Linked DNA regions of Homo sapiens: region 1 is linked to region 2. Evidence: promoter capture Hi-C in 16 types of primary human blood cells and fetal thymus (Javierre and others, 2016). All regions are on one chromosome and are shown on one strand. Each heading gives the region's core, a stretch centred on a gene start or on the middle of the fragment in contact. The rest is flanking DNA. Distances are from core to core; before and after follow the strand shown. Region 1 has its middle 16 kb from the start of PATL1-DT. Region 2 holds the start of MPEG1 (macrophage expressed 1).

Evidence for each region. The method cuts DNA at HindIII sites, captures the fragments that hold promoters and counts their contacts. A CHiCAGO score of 5 or more calls a contact.
Region 1: a fragment that was not itself captured here is called in contact with the fragment with the promoter of MPEG1 in region 2 in 1 of 17 cell types (megakaryocytes); the score reaches 5.1 in megakaryocytes.

Annotation. Positions count from the first base shown.
Region 1 is chr11:59,682,360-59,688,022 of GRCh38, reverse strand. No RefSeq gene overlaps it. Among named protein-coding and RNA genes, the nearest start is that of PATL1-DT, 16 kb to the right of the region's middle. The HindIII fragment of the contact is 3,207 bases long and covers 2,536-5,663 here.
Region 2 is chr11:59,208,975-59,214,717 of GRCh38, reverse strand. It overlaps MPEG1 (macrophage expressed 1), which reads left to right and starts at 1,791. Exons shown (of 1, transcript NM_001039396.2): 1 at 1,791-5,743. The coding sequence starts at 1,853. The coding sequence ends at 4,003. It also overlaps the pseudogene RN7SL42P. RefSeq lists an enhancer at 1,615-1,814. The HindIII fragment of the contact is 5,135 bases long and covers 1-1,805 here.

The DNA.
Region 1 (5,663 bases), core at 2,890-5,389, 470 kb before region 2:
TGTGTGTGTGTGTGTGTGTGTGTGTAGTTATTGCCACCACAGATTCCCTGCACCCCACACAGAAGGAGGTGCTGTTGTATCATTCCAGGAACAAGACTCCCACCTTCCCTCCAACCCCACGTATGTCCCAGACCTCAGAGCTACAGCTACTCTGTGTGCCCCATACTTCAGACCCCAGCTCCATGGCCACTCTACATATACTCATGTTCTAGACGCTGACTGCAGCTGTTTTATGCATACCCATGCTTCAGACCAAGCTCCATGGATTATATCTATTTCTCTTTATTGGCATTTAGATGGCTACCAATTTTTTGCTATTGTAAGTATCACTGTGATAAGCATGGTTATATATAATTCACTGTATGTAACTCATATTCTTCTTTAGGATTAAAATATTTTCAACCTGTAGATACACATTGGCAAATTGCATTTAAAAAACTTACTAATTTCTATTCCCGCAAGCTATTTACAGTGTTCACCTTATCATGGTCAACACTGAGCTGACTAGCTTGCTTTGTCTCTTTTTCTTTCCCTTTTCCTTTCTTCCTCTCTTCCCTCCCTCCTTCCTACTCTTTTTCTCCCTTCCTTCCTTCTTCCTTTCCTCCCTTCCTTCCCTCATTTCCTTCCCCTCTTTCCTTTCTTTCTTTCATTTGTCAATCTGATGGTTTACAATGTCAACTATCTTGTTTACATTTATTTATTAATTAAATTGATCTAATCACATACATTATAGCCATTCACAATTTTTGTATATTTTTCTAAAGTGCTTAAAGAATTTTGAGACTGATTTTGAAGTCTGTATTTTATGTTAACACTCTAAAGTGTGTGTAAAAATCATTTTGAAACTTTGTTATTTTTATGTATGTTTTATTATTATGGAATTCAGTAATCAAAATTTTGCTCTGTGACTTTTCCACTCATCATAAATTTTAAAATTTTATCCTGAAGTCATACAAATATCCATTCATATTTTGTCCCTGCTGCTTTATGATTTAAAATTTTACATGAAACCTATTTATTATTCTGGAATTATTTTGTTGTCTGCTATGCTACAAATCTTGAACTTTTCTACCAGTTATTTTAGCACAATTTTTTAAATTATGTTTCCTTTTTCCATTGAATTGAGGTATCATCTTTATCACATACTAAACACACATTTACCCTAAGGTTTGGTTATTGTTGGCTGCCTTTTGTGTTCCATAAATTAGTCTGCATATTCCTACAATTGTTCCTACAATTCCACATTGTTTGCATCACTGGTATTTTATAACATTTGTATCATAATGTCATAATCTACTTTTTAGTTTTATTGTATTTTCGATTGACACATTATAATTGTATGCATTTATGGAGTTCAATGTCATGTTTTGATACATGTATACAGAGTGTAATGAGCAAATCAAAGTAATTAACATATCTATTACCTTAAACAATTATTATTTGTGGTGGAAACCTTCAAAATCCTCTCTACTAGCTATTTTGAAATATACAATACATTATTGTTAACTATAGTCACCCTACTGTGCAAAAGAACACCAGAACTTATTCCTCCTATCTAACTGAAACCTTGCACCAATTGACCAATCTCTCCTCATCTTCCCCCACCCTCCCCAGCCTCTGATAATCACTATTCTACTCACTTTCTATGATATCAACTTTTTAAAATCACTATTCTACTCTATTTCTATGAGATCAACTTTTTTAGAGTCCATACATGAGTAAGATAACGTAGTATTTGTCTTTCTGTGCCTGGCTTATTTCCCTTAACATAATGTCCCCAGGTTCACATGTGTTGTCACAAATGACTGGATTTTGTTCTTTTTATGACTGAATAATATTCCATTTTGTATATATATCATATACTCTTTATCCATTCATCCACTGATGGATACTTAGATTGATTCCATATCTTGGCTTTTGTGAGTAGTGCTGTAATAATCACGAGAGTACAGGTACCTCCTCAACATACTGATTTCATTTCCTTTGGAAATATAGCCAGCAGTGAAACTGCTGGATCATATGACAGTTCTATTTTTAATTGTTTGAGGAACCTCTATTCTGTTTTCCATAATGGCTATAATAATTTATATTCCCATTATGAGTGTGTAAAGGTGCCTTTTTCTCCACATCTTTTGTTTTTTTTAATAATAGCCACTCTAACGAGTGAGGTGATACCTCATAGTAGTTCTGATTTGCATTTCCCTGATGACTAGCGATGTCGAGCATTTTTTTCATATATCTGTTGGCCATTTGTATGTCTTCTTTTGAGAAATGTCTATGCGTCTCTTTTGCCCATTTTTAAACTGGTTTTTTTTTCTGTTGAGTTATTTAAGTTCCTTATATATCAGATGTATACTTTGGAAACATATTCTCCCATTCTGTAGGTTGTCTCTTCACTCTTGATCATTTCATTTGCTGTTTAGATGATTTTTTCATTTGCTGTGATCCCATTTGTAAATATGTTTTGCCTTTGTTGCCTGTGCTTTTGAGGTTTTCTTTAAAAAAAATTATTGCCCAGACAAAGGTCATGAAGCTTTTCCCCCAGGCCTTCTTCTAATAATGTTATATTCTCAAGGCTGACGTGGAACTCTTTAATCCATCTTAAGTTGATTTTTTTATATGGTAAGAGATAAGGGTCTAATTTCATTCTTCTACATGTAGATACTGAATTTTCCCAGCACCATTTATTGAAGAGATTATCCTTTTCCCAAGTGTGTTCTTGGCACCTTTGTTGAAAATCAGTTGGCTGCAAATGTGTGGATTTATTTCTGGGTCTCATTCTGTTCCATTGGTCTATATTTCTGTTTATGCCAATACCATGCCATTTTGGTTACTACAGTTTTGTAATATATTTTAAAGTCAAGCAATATGATGCCTTCAAAACTTTGTCCTTTCTGCTCAGGGTTGCTTTGGGTATTTGGAGCCTTTTGTGGTTCCATAAAAATTTTAGAATTTTTTTTTTCTATTTCCATGAAGAATATCATTGGTATTTTGATAGGAATTGCACTGAATTGGTAGATTGCTTTGGGTAGTAGAAACATTTTAACAATATTAATTCTTCTAGTCCATAAAAAAATGGAATATCTTTCCATTCATTTGTGTATTCTTCAATTTCTTTCATCAGTGTTTCACAGTTTTCATTGTAGAGATATTTCACCTCTTTGGTTAAATTTATTCCTAAGCATTTTATTTTGTGCAGCTATTATAATAGGATTGTTTTCTAGATTTCTATTTCAGATAGTTTTCCATCACCATACAGAAATGCTACTAATTTTTATATGTTGATTTTGTATCCCACAACTTTACTGAGTTTGTTTATTAGTTCTAGTAGTTTTTTGGTGGAGCCTCTAGGATTTTGTATATACAAGATCACGTCATCTGTAAACACGTAAAATCTAACTTCTTTATTCCCACTTTGGATGACTTTTATTTCTTTCTCTTGCCAAACTCTTCTGGCTACAATTTCCAGTACTATGTTGAATAGAAGTGGTGAAAGTGGGCATCCTTGTCTTGTTCCACATCTTGAACGCTTTCAGCTTTTCCCCATTCAGTATGATGCTAGCTGTGGGTTTGTCAAATATGCCCTTTATTGTGTTGAGTTATATTTTTTCTATACCTAATTTGTTGAGAGTTTTTATCAGTAAGAGATGTTGGATTTTGTTGAATCTTTTCCTGCATCTGTTGAATTGGCCATATGGATTTTATTGTTCGTTTTGTTAATGTAATATTTTACATTTATTGATTTTATACACTGAACCATCCTTGCACTCCTGGGATGTATCCCATTTGATCATAATGAATATTTTTAATGTGCTAGTGAATTTGTTTACTAGTATTTTGTTGAGGATTTTTGTATCTATTTTCATCCAGGTTATTGGCCTGTAGTTTTTTATTGTTGTGTCCTTGTCTGTTTTTGTAATTAGAGTAATGTTGGCTTCATAGAACAAATTTGAAAGAATTCCCTCCTCTTCAATTTTTTGAAATGGTTTCAGAAGAATTTTATTAATTCTTCTTTAAATGTTGGGAATTCAGCAGTAAGGCCATCAGGTCATGGACTTGTCTTTGATAGGAGACTTTTTATGACTGATTGAGTCTCCTTATTCAATATTGTTCTATTCAGATTTTCTATTTTTTTAATAGTTTAATCTTGGTAAGCTATATGTGCCCAGGAATGTATCCATTTTTCTAGGTTATCTAATTTATTAGCATATAATTGTTGATAATATTCTCTTATGATTCTTTGTATTCTCTGGTATCAGTTATAATTTCTCCTTTTTCACTTTTGATTTCATTTATTTGAATCTTTTCTTTTTCTTAGTCTATATAAAGGTTTGTCAATTTGTTCATCTTTTCAAAAAACTTTTGTTGATCTTTTGTATTTTTTTAGTCTCTATTTCATTATTTCTGCTCTGATGTTTATTATATCCTTCCTTCTATTCATTTTTTTTCCTTCTACTCATTTTTGGTTTAGTTTGTTCTCTTCTAGTTCCTTGAGGTGCAACATTAGGGTTAGGCAGCATGTAGTTGGGTTTTAGATAGATAGATAGATAGATAGATAGATAGATAGATAGATAGATAGATATAGATATATAGATGTATATATAGATTCAGCCATTTTATGTGTTTTAATTGGAGAGTTTAATTCTTTTACATTCAGGTAATTATTGATAGGTAAGAACTTATTACTGTCATTTTGTTAATTGTTTTCTAGTTTGTATTGCATATCTTTTCTTTATTCCTCTCTTACTGTCTTCCTTTGTGGTTAAGTGTTTCTCCCTGGCAGTCTGTTTTGATTCCTTTTTATTTTTAGTATATTGATCATAGGTTTTTGTTTTGTGGTTACCATAAGGTTTACAAAAACATATTCATAACATGTTATACTAAACAGATAACAACTTTGATTACTGATGTCACAATTTACATAATTTTATATTGGAAATCCCTTAAAAAGTATTTTAGTTGTTATTATTTTGAGACAAGGTCTCACTCTGTTGCCCAGGCTAGAGTATAGTGGCATAATCTCGGCTCACTACAACCTCTGCCTCCCAGGCTCAAGTGATCCTGCCACCTCTGCCTCCTGAGTAGCTGGGACTACAGGCATGTGCCACCATGTCCAGCTAATTTTTACATTTATTATTTTTTAAAGTCTTATTTTTTACCCGTAATACTAAGGATATAAGTGGTCCCCCTGCCATTACAGTATCAGAATGTTCTGAATTTTACTATATACTTACTTTTACCAGTGAGTTTTGTACTTTTAGATGTTTTCATGTTACTCATTAGCATCCTTTCATTTCAGCTTGAAGAACTCTCTTTAACATTTTTTGTAAGGCAGGCCTAGTAGTGATGAACTTCCTCAACTTTTGTTTGTTTGGGTAAGTTTTTATTTTTCCTTCATTTCTGAAGGACAGCTTTGCTCGGTACACTATTGTCAGTTGACAGGGTGTTTTTTTCCTTTAGTACTTTGAATATATCATCCTACTCTCTCCTGGCCTACCAGGTTTCTGCTGAGAAGTCCGCTGCTAAGTGTATTGCAAAAGTCCCTTTTATGTTGTTACTTTCTCTTGCTGATTTCAGCATCCTGTCTTTGACATTTACCTTTGACAATTTTATCATAATATGTCTTAGGGTGGTCTTATTAGGATTAAATTTGATTGGTGGCC
Region 2 (5,743 bases), core at 542-3,041:
ACAAATAGAACCAGAATGGCCAGGTGTGGTGGTGCATGACTGCAGTCCCAGATTCCTGGGAAGCTGATGTGGGAGGATTGCTTGAATCCATGAGTTCTGGGCTGTAGTGTGCTATGCCAGTTGGGTGTCTGCACTAAGCTCAGCATCAATATGGTGGCCTCCTTGGAGCAAATCACCAGGTTGCCTAAGGAGGGCTAAACGGGTCCAGGTTGGAAATGGAGCAGGTCAAAACTCCTATGCTGATTAGTAGTGGGACCATGCCTGTGAATAGCTACTGCACTCAAGCCTGGGCAATAAGCAAGACCCTGTCTTGGAAAAAAAAATATACCCGGAATGCAGTATTTCTAGATTTATAGAACACCATCATGGTTTTGATAATAACTGGTGAAGCCCAGCCTGGGAAGCAAGATAACTAGCCTCATTCTTTCTAAAAACACTTCTTTGCTGCATTAATAACCAACAGAGGAATTCAACTCCTTGGAACCTTCCTTCCAGGATGCATACAGGTGATGGTGTAGTGATACCTGTGAATTGCAACATGACTTTTTCAGTCTCAGTACTGTATCTAGTTCATGGTATAATCTTGGGAATGTTAAGGATGCAACTGGGAGCTTCACTAAGTCCTCTGGATTCCCTGGCTACCACTAAGCATACTAAGACATAGCCTAATTGTCCCAAAGAATTAACAGAGTTGGGTTTCAATCAAACCTGTCACCATTGTTTTAAATTATGGGCTCTAATAGAGCTGGCATTGGAACTTGAAAAGAAACTCATGTAATTATATTCTTCTAATGATATAGCAAATGAATTTTTGCTTTTAGAAAAAATATTGGGTAGTGAAGAGCCACATTCTTTTTTATCCACCTAAACTGATTACACACACTTAGCAATGGAACAAAAAATTAAAGGTATAACAGGTACCAACTTCATACAAAATGCACACACACAGAGGATATATAAATGTGTGTACACATACACATATGTTCCTTGGCCCCTGTCTGCTGTTGATAAATCAAAATCTAGATAATAGTGTGGTTTTGTCTTGAACATTTCTATCTGAATGAAAACAACACAGTGTAGGAGTTCCTTGCCCTCGCTTTGAATGCTTAGGACAATGCAAATTGGGGTTTCCCAGCATATTGCAACCGAATCCTCTTCAGGCCCTGTCAGCTGTGCTCCAGACAATGCCATCCCCAAAGACAGAATTGCTATGGTTCATAACAGTGAAACCCACAGGACAAGTGTCCAAGAGTTTCACTCCTTTCTTTTGTGGAAACAGCCTCCACCCTCAGGCAAAGAGGAAACCCAGGGTTGGCCTTGACTAACAGCTTGCATAGGTATGGTGGAGCCAGGGTGTTTCAGTAAGGGTGGTGTGGTCATTTGCCTCTGCATTTATAGTAAAAGAAAACTGATAATGGAGTCCCAAGAGACAGCAGTCAGGGAAAATATGAAACATCAAGTCCAAGAGAATGAGCAAAAAGCAAAGCCAAACTTTCTGGTGGAGGAAGCAGTAGGGTGTGGGGTCGGGATTTTTTTCTAAGTGCACACCCCTGCAGCAGAGTAACCAGCCAGAGCTGGGGGAAAAATTAGGATAGCTACCTGTTAGGCATGTAGGGGTGTGTTTGCATGTTTAGTACGGCATAAATTCTTCAAAGACCTGATGGTCTTTAATATTCCAACCAACTCTCGTTTCCCCATTTTGTCATTAAATTAGCTTAAAGAGGAACTTGTAGCTTTTAGAGAACTCATGAGTTTTCCGCTTCATCATCTGCTTCTGTTTTCTCCATCTTAGTTTGCCCAAAGCTTGCTGGCCGCTGTGTAGGGCTGGTGAGTGGCTGGGGCTGTCTGAGCCATGAACAACTTCAGGGCCACCATCCTCTTCTGGGCAGCGGCAGCATGGGCTAAATCAGGCAAGCCTTCGGGAGAGATGGACGAAGTTGGAGTTCAAAAATGCAAGAATGCCTTGAAACTACCTGTCCTGGAAGTCCTACCTGGAGGGGGCTGGGACAATCTGCGGAATGTGGACATGGGACGAGTTATGGAATTGACTTACTCCAACTGCAGGACAACAGAGGATGGACAGTATATCATCCCTGATGAAATCTTCACCATTCCCCAGAAACAGAGCAACCTGGAGATGAACTCAGAAATCCTGGAATCCTGGGCAAATTACCAGAGTAGCACCTCCTACTCCATCAACACAGAACTCTCTCTTTTTTCCAAAGTCAATGGCAAGTTTTCCACTGAGTTCCAGAGGATGAAGACCCTCCAAGTGAAGGACCAAGCTATAACTACCCGAGTTCAGGTAAGAAACCTCGTCTACACAGTCAAAATCAACCCAACTTTAGAGCTAAGCTCAGGTTTTAGGAAGGAACTCCTTGACATCTCTGACCGTCTAGAGAACAACCAGACGAGGATGGCCACCTACCTGGCAGAACTCCTGGTGCTCAACTATGGCACCCACGTCACCACCAGTGTCGACGCTGGGGCTGCTCTTATTCAGGAGGACCACCTCAGGGCCTCCTTCCTCCAAGACAGCCAGAGCAGTCGTAGTGCCGTGACCGCCTCTGCTGGACTTGCCTTTCAAAACACCGTGAACTTCAAATTTGAGGAAAACTATACCTCGCAGAATGTCCTCACCAAGAGCTACCTCTCAAACCGAACCAACTCCAGGGTGCAGAGCATTGGAGGGGTTCCTTTTTACCCAGGCATCACCCTCCAGGCCTGGCAGCAGGGTATCACCAACCACCTGGTGGCCATCGACCGCTCTGGCCTGCCGCTGCATTTCTTCATCAACCCCAACATGCTACCTGACTTGCCAGGCCCCCTGGTGAAGAAGGTGTCAAAGACAGTGGAAACTGCTGTGAAGCGCTATTATACATTCAACACCTACCCTGGCTGCACAGATCTCAATTCTCCCAACTTCAATTTTCAGGCCAACACGGATGATGGCTCCTGCGAGGGGAAAATGACCAACTTCTCTTTCGGTGGGGTTTATCAGGAATGCACTCAGCTCTCAGGGAATAGGGATGTCCTCCTCTGCCAAAAGTTGGAGCAGAAGAATCCACTCACTGGTGATTTCTCCTGCCCCTCTGGCTACTCCCCGGTGCACCTGTTATCCCAGATCCACGAGGAGGGTTACAACCACCTGGAGTGTCATCGAAAGTGCACTCTCCTCGTCTTCTGCAAGACCGTGTGTGAAGATGTGTTCCAGGTGGCAAAAGCTGAATTTAGGGCTTTTTGGTGTGTGGCCAGCAGCCAAGTACCTGAAAACTCAGGACTGCTTTTTGGGGGCCTCTTCAGCAGCAAGAGCATAAACCCCATGACAAATGCACAGTCATGCCCAGCCGGCTACTTTCCACTGAGACTCTTTGAAAACCTCAAGGTATGTGTTTCTCAGGACTATGAGTTGGGAAGCAGGTTTGCGGTCCCCTTTGGCGGGTTCTTTAGCTGCACAGTTGGGAACCCCCTGGTAGATCCTGCTATATCCAGAGATTTAGGGGCACCGTCTCTGAAAAAGTGCCCCGGGGGCTTCAGCCAGCACCCAGCCCTCATCAGCGATGGATGCCAAGTGTCCTATTGCGTCAAATCCGGGCTCTTCACAGGAGGGTCCCTGCCCCCTGCCAGGCTCCCACCTTTCACCCGGCCACCCCTCATGAGTCAGGCTGCCACCAATACTGTCATAGTGACCAATTCTGAGAATGCGAGATCCTGGATTAAAGACTCCCAGACCCACCAGTGGAGGCTGGGAGAACCGATAGAGCTGCGGAGGGCCATGAATGTCATCCATGGGGATGGTGGTGGTCTGTCAGGAGGGGCTGCAGCTGGGGTCACAGTGGGGGTCACCACCATTCTGGCTGTTGTTATCACCTTGGCCATCTACGGCACCCGGAAGTTCAAGAAGAAAGCATATCAGGCAATTGAGGAAAGGCAGAGTTTGGTTCCAGGCACTGCAGCAACTGGAGACACCACTTACCAAGAGCAGGGGCAGAGTCCAGCTTAAATCTCTCCCCGAAAATGGTTTCTCTCATCTCCAGTGTGGTCATTGCTGACCACTCTGTTTTCCTAAGCATTGAAATGGCAAGTGCAACCAAAAGTAGGTATATTCGTGACTTCTTGTTTAGGTCTCTGGGCCAGGAAATTCATACTGTTACATGGATAAGGTTGGGATTGGGGAGAGGGAACAGTTGGGACTAGAAGCAAAAGTGATTCTGGGACTAAAATAGGAAGCAGATGTCCTTTCCCAATGTGTGTTGCTGTCTTCACCTGAATGCATTTGTGTAAAAATAGCGGAGGGACAATGTGAACATTTGTATTTGGAAGCTATGAATTTACTCTGAAGTTTGCAGTTGTTTCCAATTTGTGAGCTCTAAGAGTTTCTGCCTGTAAGAACTACTCTCCTTTTATTTTGATTTTTAAAAACCTGTCTGAATTTCACACTCTTAGAGCCTGGAAGAGCCCTGAAAAGACACAAGTCTTGCCTGGCTACTGCTTTTTAACTTTGAGGGCTCTATGTTGACAGACTGTTATCTCCTCTGGGTGACCTCAAACATCTGAAAAGAAAGATGTTGCCTGTGCCAATTCCACTTTTTCCAGCTGCCCCTTGATGAACACTCCCTTATACCAGACCACTCTTGGACTTCTGACTGGTGTCATCAAGTCCTCAGAAAATATTTTAAGTTATTTTAAGTTATTAAGGAAGGGATGATTTGGAGACAAGGAGTAATGAAAGATGGGTAAAAACTGGAAAAGATTCTGGTGCTAAGTACTACCCCTTCATCTTCCATGGATGGTCATTACCTTTCCTGTCCTCCTGTTATATGAACACACACACACACACACACACACACACACACACACACGCACACACATACCACATTTCAATAAGTCTTCATTGTTCTGGGTCCTTACCTTTCCTGTCCTCCTGTTATATGAACACACACACACACACACACACACACACACACGCACACCACATTTCAATGTCTGCATGGTTCTGGGGGTAACAAAGGCAAGAAGTTAAAGTAAGACCACATTTGAGTATTACTTACTCTGTAGAATCAAAACAGAGTAGTTAACACCAATTATGCAAACTACTTTTTTTTCCAGCAGAAAGGGAGCTGACATGATCAAATCCATGTTTTCAAATGAACTGAAAAAGGCATCCAGCACCACTTATAACACATTTATTTCAGTTCCAGGCTGACAGCCCTGGGGCATCTAGCAGGATGCATAATTGTCATCTGGTGAGAGTTGGGACTTTGCTCAATTTTAATACCAATCTCTCCTGATTGTAATTACCTCCACTACTTTCATGATCCCCCTACAATATTTTTTTAAATGATATATTTATTCACTGAATCAAATGTCATTAATGAGTTATCTTCTGTGGAGGATGACTGTTCTCTTTGTTAATGTTCACAATCAAGATCTTGGGCTGAGAAGAGGCCCTTCACCCAAGGAGTTTGAAGTATCACAGTGTGTGGGAAGGTGGGAACCAGGATACCCATTCATTTCCAACCGAGACACAGAGAAGTGAGTCACAGAATTTGAGCCCGCTCTCTTGACTGCCCAGCCAGAGACACTGATTTCTGTAACCTCTTCACTTGATCCTGCCTCTTAAGCATTAAAACATTCTCCTAAACCTCTGAGTGTTTTGTGGGTTCTGGGTGTTTTGTACATTTTAGCCAAGCTAACCACTTGTCTGCAAGTACTGACTTTCCTATGAATTCTTTGAAGATTA